2 separate regions of the Homo sapiens genome follow, and region 2 is linked to region 1. The links are contacts of gene promoters, found by promoter capture Hi-C in blood cells and fetal thymus (Javierre and others, 2016). All regions are on one chromosome and are shown on one strand. Each heading gives the region's core, a stretch centred on a gene start or on the middle of the fragment in contact. The rest is flanking DNA. Distances are from core to core; before and after follow the strand shown. Region 1 holds the start of DNAAF9 (dynein axonemal assembly factor 9). Region 2 overlaps ATRN (attractin).

What was found. Contacts are between HindIII fragments. The CHiCAGO score rates a contact against its expected background, and 5 or more counts as called.
Region 2: a fragment that was not itself captured here is called in contact with the fragment with the promoter of DNAAF9 in region 1 in 2 of 17 cell types (M1 macrophages and M2 macrophages); the score reaches 5.5 in M1 macrophages.

The regions. Positions count from the first base shown.
Region 1 is chr20:3,405,608-3,412,372 of GRCh38, reverse strand. DNAAF9 (dynein axonemal assembly factor 9) reads left to right here and starts at 4,704. Exons shown (of 37, transcript NM_001009984.3): 1 at 4,704-4,898. The coding sequence starts at 4,816. RefSeq lists enhancers at 3,303-3,804, 4,181-4,380 and silencers at 4,371-4,620, 4,661-4,900, 4,961-5,040. The HindIII fragment of the contact is 11,473 bases long and covers 1-6,765 here.
Region 2 is chr20:3,566,243-3,572,856 of GRCh38, reverse strand. ATRN (attractin) reads right to left here. Exons shown (of 29, transcript NM_139321.3): 12 at 1-126. Among named protein-coding and RNA genes, the nearest start is that of GFRA4, 94 kb to the left of the region's middle. The HindIII fragment of the contact is 1,611 bases long and covers 4,071-5,681 here.

The DNA.
Region 1 (6,765 bases), core at 3,455-5,954:
TAGTAAGTGGAGTCGTTACATCTCAAATTATTGCAGTAGATTTTGTCCTGGCATTTGAAAATTTGCTTGAAATATTGGCATTAGAAAATACTACTGGTAGCGGTATGTTCAAAGAGTGACTTGAGCTGAATGATGACAACAGACAGTATGGGAGGCCATTACAACTTTGCTGTGATTATCTTCTCAATCTGAATTTATCTTTAAAATTTGTCATTTTATCCATTCCTTTGGTACAAAAATCACACATCTTTTATGCTTAGCCGTTAGTATGTGCTGATGTATATCTGTCTTTCCACCATTTTCAATATTGAATAAATACTTGCATACCACATAAAGAGCTGCAAATGGATTTTCTCTCCTTTAATAAATGTACACTCTTCAGAAAATTTGTCATAAAATTCACTCTTGCAATTTGGCATTTGTGGATTCACATATACACAAATAAAGAAATAGATAACACAATCGATTTTCAACAAGGGTACCAAGACAATTCAATGGGGAAAAAAATAGTCTGTTCAACAAATGGTGCTGAGACAAGTGAATAGCCACATGGAAAAGAATCAAGTTGGATCCCTGCCTCACATCATATAGAAAAATTAATTTGGAATTAATCAAAGATCTAAAATGTAAGAGCCAAAATTATTAAACTCTTAGAAGAAAATGTAAGAGGTACGTCTTCATGACTTTGGATTAGGCAATAGTTTCCTAGTTATGACACATAGAGCACAAGCAACAAAAGAAAAAAATTGATAAACTGGATATCATTAAAATTTTAAAGTTTTGTGTTTCAAACAACAATATCAAGAATGTGAAAAGACAACCCACAGAATGGGATAAAATTTTTGCAAATTGTATTTCTGATAAGGTACTTATATCTAGACTATATAAAGAGCTACCACAACATAATAAAAGGACAAGTAACCAAGTAAAAATGGTCAAAAAATTCGAGCAGACATTCCTCCAAAGAAGAGGTATAGGCCAGGCACGGCGGCTCATGCCTGTAATCCCAGCACTTTGTGAGGCTGAGGTGGGCAGATCACCTGAGGTCGGGAGTTTGAGATCAGCCTGACCAACATGGAGAAACCCCGTCTCTACTAAAAATACAAAATTAGCTGGGCGCGGTGGCGCATGCCTGTAATCCCAGCTACTCGGGAGGCTGAGGCAGGAGAATCGCTTGAACCCGGGAGGCAGAGGTTGCGTTGAGCTGAGATCATGCCATTGCACTCCAGCCTGGGCAACAAGAGTGAAACTCCGTCTCAAAAAAAAAAAAAAAAAAAAAAAAAGGAGGAGGTCCAAATGGCTAATAAGCACATGAAGAGATGCTTGACATCATTAGCTATCAGGAAATATAAGCCAAAACCACAATGAGATACCACTTCATACCCTCTAAAATGGCTATAGTGAAAAAGATAATGAGTATTAGGGAAGATATGGAAAAATTAGAACCCACATATGATGCTGGTGAGAATATAAATGGTGCAGCCACTTTGGAAAACCGTTTGGCAGTTCCTCAAAAGGTTAAACGTAGAGTTACCATGTGATCCAGAAACCCACTCCTAGATCGCCAAGGAAACAAACTGTGTGTCCACAAAAAAACTTGTACACAAATGTTAATAATAGCATTAGCTACAAAACATAGCAAAACAGTGGAAACAATCTGACTGTTCATTAACAGATAAATGGATAAGCAAGATGTGGTATATCCATTCAATGTAATAATATTCAACCATGAAAAGGAACAAAATTCTGATACATGCTGCAACATGGATGAACCTTATAAACATTATGCTAAATGGAAGAAGCCAGTCATGAAAAACCATATATTGAATGATGCTGATAACATGAAATGTCCAGAATAGGCAAATTAAAAGGTTAGTGGTTGCCTAGGGCTGGGGTGGTTGGGAAGAAATGGAGGAATGACTGCTAATAGGTACAGGATTTTCCTGTTGGAGTGATAAAAATGTTCTAAAATTGATTGTGGTGGTGGTTGCACAAATCTGTGCCTATACTCATTGATTTTTTTTTTTTTTTTTGAGACAGGGTCTCACTCAGTCCCCCATGCTGGAGTGCAGTGGCCTGATCTTAACTCACTGCATCCTAGACCTCCCAGGCTCAAGCGATCCTCCCATCTCAGTCTCCTGAATAGCTGCGACTACAGACACATGCCACTATGCCTGGCCAATTTGTGTGTGTGTGCATATATGAAATATATTTGTATACATAAATTATAATATAAATATATATTTTTATAAATAAACTATATATATATAGAGAGAGAGAGACAGAGAGATGAGGTTTTGCCACGTTGCCCAGGCTGGTCTCAAACTCTTGGGCTCAAGAAATCCACTTGTCTTAGTCTCCCAAATTGCTGGGACTGCAGGCGTGCACCACCACGTGTAGCCCCGTTGAATTGTTTTTAGAGCTGATTTTCAGAGCTTTTGCACCGATGGGAAGTTATCTCTAAATAATGGTGGTTACTTGTTCATGACTCTGGACTTGAGCTAAAAAATTGATCACTGCAAGCATAGAAAGAATTGAAAGAGTTGTATTTGATAAATCTCATGACGGTGTCATAGCGTCTGTCATAAGTCCAAACTCATACCAAATAGTAACTGGGAATTGAATCTTGAGCTGTGAACTTTGAACTCGGACAAAACAATAAATTGAACTCAATATCTGATGCAAAAAAAAAGTGAATTTCTTCTCTGCTTGCAAGGGAGAGCGGTACTTGTAAGGTACAGCCTCTCTGAACAAAGCCAGAGCTGATCTTATAAAAGGTTTTGAAGGCCGGGCGCGGCTCACGCCTGTAATACCAGCACTTTGGGAGGCCAAGGCTGGCGATTCACTTGAGGCCAGGAGTTCAAGACCAGCCTGGCCAACATGGCGAAACTCTGTCTCTACTAAAAATACAAAAAATTAGCCAGGCTTGGTGGCACAGGCCTGTAATCCCAGCTACTTGGGAAGCTGAGGCACAAGAATCGCTTGAACCAGGAGGCAGAGGTTGCAGTGATCTGAGATCACGCCACTGCACTCCAGCCTGAGCAACAGAGTGCGACTCTGTCTCCAAAAAAAAAGGAGAAAAAGAAAAAAAAGGCCGGGCGCGATGGCTCAGGCCTGTAATCCCAGCACTTTGGGAGGCCAAGGCAGGCGGATCAACTGAGGTCAGGAGTTTGAGACCAGTCTGGCCAACATGGCAAAACCCGTCTCTACTAAAAATACAAAAATGAGCCAGGCGTGGTGGCGGGAGCCTGTAATCCCAGCTACTCGGTAGGCTGAGGTAGGAGAATCGCTTGAACCGGGAGGCAGAGGTTGCAGTGAGCCGAGATCGCGCCACTGCACTCCAGCCTGGGCGACAGAATGAGACTCAGTCTGGGAAAGAAAAAAAAATGGTTTTGGAAATATTCGCCTTCAGGGATTGGCTGTCTTTCCGAATCAGAAGTGGAGTGCGGCAGCTGAGTACCCACTGACTTTCGGAAGCCTGGTCGCTGGTGTCAGGCACTTGTTGATTGGCTATTGTCGGAGGCTTAGAGCGGTCACTGATTGGCTGACTTTCAGAAGCGTGGGGTTGTCATTGATTTACTAAGAAGCATAGTTACCGGAGTGAGGCTATCGCTGATTGGCTGATTTTCAGAGCTGCTGCACCGACGAGAAGTTATCTCTAAATAATGGTGGTTATTTGTTCACGACTCCGGACTTGAGCTAAAAAAGTATTTTCCTTTCTTGAATATGAAAGACGAGCACTTTAAATTCCTACTCCCTTCTGGTCTTCCCTCAGCCAAACCTGAAGGAGACACCATAGGGATTGTCCAAATCTTCATTAGTGTAGGAAGGATTTTCAGCCAGTGTTGTAATTTAAGTGATCTAGCACCAATTACTGTGGGAGAAAAATAGCTCTAATTATTGCAATTTAGTGTAAAAAGATGAATACAGGACATTTAAGGCATTCCGACGAGGTCAACGAAGGACGCAGGCCAATAATCATTAAATACGTCCTGTATATACAGGACTCCTGGCAACTATCAGTGCAGTATTTCCCAAGTTTCTTGTACATGTCCCTGCAGAAACCGGTAGAGCTAGGATCTTAACAGTAAAGGTTAGGGGTCTTCTGGGATCCTGTGCGCCTCTAACGCTCATGCCCTGCGCAGGGCTGGGTGCGCACTGCTGCGCTAACCCGAGGCCGGCTAGGAATCTATTGGATGTTTGAAGGGTGGGTGCGGAATTGATGACCAGGAAGCGGGAAGACACCGTTCCGGAGAACAGGGAAGCGAGCCGGGTACTGGGGAGGTGCGCTGGGTACTGGGGAGGTGCGCTGGATCCTGACGCCGGAGCGGAAGACTTCGCTGGAGGCCGGGGCTGGTCGGGCGGGGCGGGGCGGGCAGAGGCGGAGGGGCGGGGCCGGGCTGGGAGAGGCTCCGCCCCCGGGCGCGTCCGTGTGCGTGGCCGGGGGGCGCCGCGCAGAGCCCCGCTCTATGATGCCGGGCTTGAGGACGAGGCCGGGCGGCGCTGTGGCAACCCTCACCCTGCGGACACGCGCTCCCAACATCCGGTCCGGCGGCCTCGCAGCTTAAGAAGTGGGGTCCCTGTGGCCGTGCGCCGACCCCCAACTCCAGCCGCTCCCAACGCCCCCATCCGCTCTCGGTGCGCGCGCCCCCTCCACGCCCCCGCCCCCGCCCCCGCCGGGCCCGCGCGCCGCGCCCCCTCCCACCCGGCACGCCCTGCCGCCCCGCCCGGCCGCAGCTAGCGTGGAGCCGCCCTGCGGGCAACTGAGACCCTCGCAGCTGCACCGTCCTCCTCCGCCGCCAGTCGTCCGCCGCCATGGACGTGTACCCCCCGCGCCGGCAGGGGCTGCCCCGCGCTCGGTCCCCTGGCGGCTCCAGCCGCGGGTCACCCTCCGTCAGGTACGCGGGGCAGAGGCAGCCGAGGGGCGGCCGGGCGGGGGATGCGGGCTGTCGGGGTCCGGCGACGCCTCCCGCCGCAGGGCGTGGTCCGACATGGCTTCCTCGGGACGGTTCTTTGCTGAACGGCTCAGGGAGGAATTTTTCCCAGGAACGGCGCCCTCTGTAGAGGCCCCACAATGGCTCCCCTTTGGACAACCCCGCAACGGTTTCCCCACAATGGCTCCCCCACAGACAACCCTGCAACGGTTTCCCCACAATGGCTTCCCTAGGGACAGCGATTCCCTGTGAAGACACTGTTATGACGTCCTCACCCCCATAGAACGTTTCTCCCAGGAAGGATTCTTCTACACAGAACCCCACAGAGGCTTCCCTATGAATAACTCACTCGCCTTCCCCAGGGAATGTTTCCCTCAGAAACTGCTACTCTACAGACCTCACACCTCCACACACACAATAGCTCCCTCGTGTAGAACCCCCAAATGGATTACCTAGAAAGCCCCCTCCCGTGGGTCTCTAGAGCCTTTGCCCTTGACAACGGCTTCCTTAAAGAGTGTCCCCCGCCCCCTACGTACATAATGACAGCATCTCCCCTGTCGCGCGTTTCCCCAGCTCCCCCTGCCTCAGCCTGCATCGCGACGCCCCCTCACTCCACAATAGGGAGCTCGGGTTGGGAGGAAGTAGAGGTATTAGGGACGCAGGAGGAAAAACTGGATAAATAGGGGAAAGAGGCCTAGAACCTCCGAAAGCGGCGGACGCCAGGCCCCTTACCGTAGAGACACAGTCCCAAGCTACCTCAGTATGGGGAGGGGGTGATCGTGGGGAGCGTTCCCCGCCCCCTTTAGATATAGGAAGATCCGTTTCCGATTTCTGTGCCCTATGCGTTTGGTGCTGATCTTGTTGGTCTGGGCATTGTTTGTGATGGAGCTGGTGTGGGGCGCCGGCGCAGTGTGGAGGTTGGAATGATGGAGGGGTTGCAGCAGAGACCTTTGAGAAGGAGAGGGAGAGGGGGAATGCGAGCGATGAGCTTTGGTACTGCTAAACTGTCATTAAAACAGGAGAGGGTTTTGTTGTTGTTTGCTTTTTCTTATTCTAGCCACATAGCAAAGCAAATATATTGTTCCCTTGAAAGGAGGTTGCCAATCTACATGTTAAAACAGTTTTCTTATATTCTTGTTATGGTACTTAAGGCATATGTTTTAACTTTGCTTGCTGATCTGATTTTTGGGGTTGTTTGTTTGCTTTAACTAGACCAAATTATTGGAGAACAAGAAACTGATTCTTAGAAACCTGTTTCTTTTTTACTTCCCTGCATTCCTTTCCACAACCCAGAATCCAGTATATGTTTGTTGAACAAATAAAGGATAGAGAAGGTGGGGGGTAGATACCAATGAAACATTGCATTTAGGAGTCCTAAATTGCTTCGAATCTGTCAGGTGACATTTTTGAACTCCTGCTCTGCCCTTCAGTGTAATTCCTTGTGGGCTTTACAGTTCCAAGTTTAACTGCTTATAGTAACGCATCTCCAATCCTTTGCAACATTTCTGCCAGTTTCACTGTCTGAAGCAGAAAGTATTTGAACTTGTATAGACATTGCATAGGATACTTTAGAACAGCCATCCGTTAAATCTAGGCTCTGTGTGGACTTGAGGTTTATCCCAGATCATCTTGAGCTTAGGAATTTGGATTTGAGTCTGTTGAGATCTTTAGGGGGAAAAAAATCATCTCTACCTTAGAATCTGTCTCTTAAATGCTGCCTTTCTTGTTTTTAGTAGCATGGCCATGTGCTTTTTATTTATTCTTTTAAAGGTAGTGATTCTATGTTCAAAGAAGTATGCTGGCTCACTTTACTGATCATACCCGAACTCCA
Region 2 (6,614 bases), core at 3,627-6,126, 160 kb before region 1:
CACCGAATACCAGGTCCTGCTGCTAAACAAGCGGCTTCACTCCGATGCGCATCACACTGTTCCGAGGTGAATACCAGGATGTCGCTGAGGAGGAGACTATTGAAACCACCGAACACATACATGGTGCTAAGAGGAAAAAGGGAGAGAAGAAATTTACTAGAGACTCAGATAACAATTGGATGCTATACTTTTTTTTTTTTTTTTAAGAGACAGGGTCTTACTCTGTTGCCCAGGCTAGTCTCAAACTCCTGGGCTCAAGAGATCCTCTCGCCTCAGCCTCCTGAGTAGCTGGGACTACAGGCACACACCACCACATCCAGCTACCATGATACACTTTTTACAGACAATCTTCAAACAAATCTTACATATCATAAGTCTTCTAAGAAATTATTTTTCAAGGTCTTAAAAAACATTATGATTCCCTTCCTTTCCAAATTCCATCCTTTCATCCTGGCCTATAACACACCCAGAATAGTTCCAATAATCTGCCTCCTCGTCATAGCTACTGTATTAAAAAGTTCTCATGATAGCCTGCTGACTTTTAACCATGAGTCACTGGAAAATTTTAGTGTCAGGATATGCTCACATCTTTTAATGCTAAACAGCAATTCTATATCTTCATTTTTTAAATATTAAAAATAAAAATGTACAAATTTAAAGCACAGGTAAAAGCCTCTGTAATTAAAGTTGTGTCATACTGGTACATGAATATGAGCCCAATCATAAACAGATAAAAGCACACATGTACATTTAGTACACAGTAAAAGTGGCATCTTACATTAGTGGGAAAAGATGTTCTTTTTAGTAAATGGTATCAAGATAACTAAACATATGGAAAAAAATAAAATTGAATCTATTTCTCTACATTCTGGGATAATTTCCACATGGATTAGAGCATCTTCTGAGAAAAACAAAACACACAAGCAGTAGAAGAATGGGTGAATTTCTCTATAACCTAAGAGTGAAAAAAAACTGACTTAAAATCCAGAAGGTAGGGGAAAAGAAGATTGAAAAATCTGGTCATATGAATTAAAAAGACGTTTTACATGGAAATAATGCTATAAGCAAAGTAAAAAAACAAATGATATGCTATGAAAAAAAGATTTACAAGTTATGTTATAGGAAAAGGACTATCCCTAACATAGAGCGGGGCTTCAGCCAGTTTGCAGAGAAAAAAATGCAAATGACCTTAAACATATGAGAAGATGCTCTAATTTCAGTGTAAGAAAAATGCAAATTAAAACTATACTGAGGTAGCATTTCTCACCTATAAGACTAGCAAAAAAAAAAAAAAAGCACAAAAAATTGACAATATATGGATTGGTGAGACTATGGGGCAAAAGGCACTCTCACACACTACTGCTGGGCATGTAAAATGATGCAGCCTACAGAGGGATTTGGCAAGCTCTAACAAAACTTTGCATTTACTTTTTGAACCTGAAATCACATTTCTAGAAGTCTAGCACAAAGATAGAATAGCAAAAATACAAAAAGAAGTACATGAGGCTATTCACTACAGCATTAACCCACTTATGCCAGAGGGCAAATTTTTTTGTGAAAAATCAGACCTTGGGGATGACCTTGAGCAGCAGGATATAAATAACTCCCACAAGCTTAGCGTTCCAATAATGGAACACTAGGCATAAATGGGTTAATAATAGCAAAAGACTCAAACAGCCCCAAATGTCCATCAATTGGGGATGTGACAAACTATAATACATCCACATAATGAAATATTAGGCAGATGTAAAAGGAATGAGGAAAATTTCTACATACTTCTATGGAGTGAGCACCAGTATATACTGCTATGTGGGGGAAAAAATGGAACGCAGAGAAAAGTATTCAAACAATGTAGCCATTTATCTATTGAGGGAACTAGAAGGTCAAACACACAAACGTGCACAAATAATTCATTTTCCTTTTTAAAAAGAAGAACACCACAGTTTCTCTTTAACCTGCCTTCTTAAAAAACCTAGAAACAACAGCCAACCCAGGAGCAATGAATACAACTAGTGCTTAGATTGTGCGTATTTAAAAACCATTCTTTCTCCCTCCTGTCACCCCTTAAAAACTAGAACTTTTTAGAGAAAAACCTAATTTCATGTCTGGATGAAGAAATGTTCACAATGAGTCTAGCAGATCTTGTTATACTGGGAAGAAAAGAAAACGAGGGTAGTATCAGATAAACTCAAAAGCTAATGTAAAGATGCCCTCACTGGCTAAAGATGGAAAATGTTTGAAATTTAATAAAAACACAAACTACAATAGATTAAAACACATGAAATATTTTTAAATCCATGAGTTCATAATGATACACATCTCCCATCCCCTGAAAAAAAAAAACAACCTAATTTGTCATCTTTGGACAATACTAAGAAATCACTACATTATTTTGAAGATTGGTAAACAAAGGGAAAGAAATAAACCTATGAAGTGATCTTGCCAAAATACTGAAGTGAATCTGATCAAGTTAATTTGTAGGAAGTTTAGGAGAGAGACCAATATGTTATATGAAAGCCCAGGATACAATAATCAAAATCTGGACTACGGGAAACTCTACAGGACAAACAACCCAGTCTCTTTAACAAGTAAGGGGGAAAATGATGGATGGGGTCCCTACAGATCAAGAGAAACTTCAGAGACATTTTAACCAATTGTAACATATGGATCTTATTTGGATTCTGAGTTGAACAAACTAAACTTAAAAAAAAAATTGAGACAATTAGGAGATGTAAACACTGAATGGACACTGAGAGATATTAAAGAACAACTTTTTTTTTTTTTTTGAGTTAGAGTCTTGCTCCATTACTCAGACTGGAGTGCAACAGCACCATCATAGCTCAGTGCAACCTCAAATTCCTGGGCTCAAGCAATCCTCCCACCTCAACCTCCTGAGTAGTTGGGACAACAGGCACGCACCACCATGACCAGCTAATTTTTGTATTTCTAGTAGAGATGAGGTCTTGCTGTGTTGCCCAGGCTGGTGTTGAACTCCTGGACTCAAGCAATCCTCCTGCCTTGGCCTCCCAAAGCGCTGGGATTACAGGCGTGAGCCACCACCCCTGGCTTAAAGAATAAAAGTGTAATAACTGCATAGGGGTTGTGTTTTAAAAATTAAGTCTTCATCTTTAAAAGACAGCCAATCCTCATTATAGTCATGTATGTGGTCCTGCATAACGATGTTTCCATCAATGATGGATGGCATGTACAATGGTTGTCATCTAGTAATCTAAGGTTAATTTATTATTGAAGAAAACAATTTTAAAATAAATTTAGTGTAGCCTAAGTGTACAGTTCACAAAGTCTACAGTAGTGTACAGTCTACTCACTCACAGACCTCCCCAGAACAATTTCCAGTCCTGTATGCTCCCTCTCTTCATAGTAAGTGGCCTGTACAGGTGTACATTTTTTTATCTTTTATATTGCATTTTTACTGTACCTTCTCTATGTTTAGATATGCTTGGACACACAAATACTTACATTGCATTACAATGACCTACAGTATTGAGTATAGTAACATGCTGCACAGGCTTGTAGCTAGGAGCAACAAGCCATACCATATAGCCTAGATGTGTAGCCTAAGTTTATGTAAGTACACTCTGTGATGTTGGCACAATGATGAAATTGCCTAAGGATGCACTTCTCAGAATGTATCCCTATCATTCAGTGACACATGACCATATCTGCAGATTGTAGATTCCATATTTGCAAATTCACGTACTTATAAAATCTATTTCTAATTCCAAAATCAATACTTGCAGTAGTTTCATGGTCATTTACCAGCATGTGTGTGCAAAGAATGGCAAAAAATTTGAGTTGACACACATGCATATTACCGGCTAAGGTCAAACAAGGAGATGCTCTCCCTTCTTGTTTCAACTATCATACTACAAACAAGTGTCCCTTCCATGATGTATCTAGTGCCATGTTTTATGCATTTTTGTGCCTTATGTTAGTGCTTTCACTGCTGAAAATGGCCCCCTATGCAGTGCTGAAGTGCTGTCTAGTGTTCCTAAGTGTAAGAAGGCTGTGACGAGCCTTACTGAGAAAATACGTGTGTTACATAAGCTTTGTTCAGGCATGAGTTAAAGTGCTGTTGGCTGTGAGCTCAATGTTAATAAATCAAGAATATATATTCAACAAGATGTTTTTAAATAGAAACACACATAAAAGAAAGTTATGTATGCTGACTGGTTGATGAAAATGTCATCAGAGGTTTATAGAAACATAACCCTGTATTTCCCCTAGGAGCAATAATTCAATATTCAAGAATTCAGTGTTTATAGTTACTTTATAGAGTTGTGAAAAATGAAAACAAATTGTTATCTGAAATATATTTTTTTTGAGTTAGGGTCTCACTCTGTCACCCAGGCTGGAGTGCAGTGGCGTCATCATAGCTCACTGCAGCCTCAAACTCCTGGGCTCAAGTGATCCTCCTGCCTTAGCCTCCCAAAGTGCTGGGATAACAGGCATGAGCCACCATGCCTGGCCTAATCTGAAATATTTACTGGTAGATTTCAAAAACTAAAAAATTAATATAAGGTTTCTTTCTCTTTTTTTTTTTTTTGACACAGTCTCGCTCTGTTGCCCAGGCTGGAGTGCAGTGGCGCGATCTCAGCTCACTGCAAGCTCCACCTCCTGGGGTTCACATCATTCTCCTGCCTCAGCCTCCCGAGAAGCTGGGACTACATGCGCCCGCCACCACGCCCAGCTAATTTTTTTGTACTTTTAGTAGAGATGGAGTTTCACAGTGTTAGCCAGGATAGTCTTGATCTCCTGACCTCGTGATCCACCCGCCTCGGCCTCCCAAAGTGCTGGGATTACAAGCGTGAGCCACTACGCCCGGCCAGGTTTCATTTTTTACCTTGCTATAGGCTTACTCAGTACCACATTAAGCAGGCTAGATTCAACTAGTTAATTTGTTGCTTAAACCAAATAAGCAACCTCCTCTTCCCAGTACAGTTGGTGTTCTCAGCAATTGTGAATCCATCTGGTTGCACAGGGGCTCTGCAAAGTTAGGGAGAGTCTCTCAGAGACACATGGAGCAGGCAACTGAGAGGCACAGCTGCATCTCCTGCCGCCTTGGTATGTCACAGCCATCTCTCCTCCTCCTTCCTGCCTCCCTCAAAACCTCAATGAAAACCAAGGAAGGCACAGCTCACCCAATGCTGTTGATCCACTTAAAGCATGAAGAAATGCTGTGAATCGAAGTTTCTTTTTCAGTAAATTATTTCATAAAATTAAACCAAAACTATGGCCTTTTAGTAGCTGGCCTCCCTCAGGGTCTCCTGCCACCTACCCAATCCTGTCTCACACACACAGATACTTACATATCAGGGTTCAAACATACCACTGGAATCACATAAAATGAAAACATTACAACTCAGGCAAGGCATTCCCAATTTTGACTCATGATTAAATTATATTTTATGGTAAAGTCTCAACTTCTCTGAGTTTGAATAAAACCTAAGAATGTTTTATAAAAAATTCATTTGTTTGCTAGTTATGACTGTACTAATACCTGCCATTTAGCAAATGTCTATTATGTGCCAAATCCTGTGCTAGGAGAACTAGGAACACAAACGAAGACAGTTGAGGCCAGGCTCCCACAGGCATGATAATGACAAAATGGTCCCACTGCGTTTCAGATGAAAATCTCAAGAGGCACTTGCTAGAAAGCTTTAAGGGTCTTCTGTACTGAGGAAGTTCAAGATTATGATTTATAATAACACTTCAAATTAGCAAGGTGGCCAGAAATCCTTCCATTTTAGTCTCTAGCTGTCAAATGTTCTCATAGTAAAACCATACACATTGCTAAAAAACGAAATAATTACCTTATATAAGATAGCACCTTTTCCTAGTAGCTAGTTCCTAAATTGTCTCAACTCTTCCTTCACAACATCTCCAAAATATGTCACCTTCTCACTTTTCCTTTTTTTTTTTTTTTTTTTTGAGATGGAGTCTCGCTGTCGCCCAGGCTGGAATGCAGTGGCATAATCTTGGCTCACTGCAATTTCCGCCTCCTGGGTTCAAGTGATTCTCCTGCCTCAGCCTCCCAAGTAGCTGGGACTACAGGTGCCTACCACCACACCTGGCTAATTGTTTTGTATTTTAGGAAGAGACGGGGGTTTTGCCATGTTGACCAGGGTGGTCTGGAACTCCTGGGCTCAAGTGATCGGCCCTCCTCGGCCTCCCAAAGTGCTGGGATTACAGGCGTGAGCCACCGTGCCCGGCCTCTCATCTTTCCTAATCTAAGTGAAATTACCTCATCTGTCTTCCATCGTTACAACAGAAATTTCAAAAGCCAAAGGAATTCTAACATGATGCAGGCATTATAACGCTTAAACATCCTTAGGATTTATATGGCTTAGAATTTTAAAAAAGGGAAAGTAGACAGCAGTAGTAATAGCAGAAACTGAATGAGAAAAATTAATAATGTGATTAGGCTGTTTAACTTCTTAAAAATCTTTAAAGCACACTGTAAGGAACAAGTAGAGTGGCCACTCTGAATCTCCCTTATTTGACTGAGACTTCTCCAAGGGCCGATTTTTTGAAGAGCTCTGGTAGTTTGGGCCAGGCATTTTTGAGCGATAAAATGCAATGAACTGCAGACT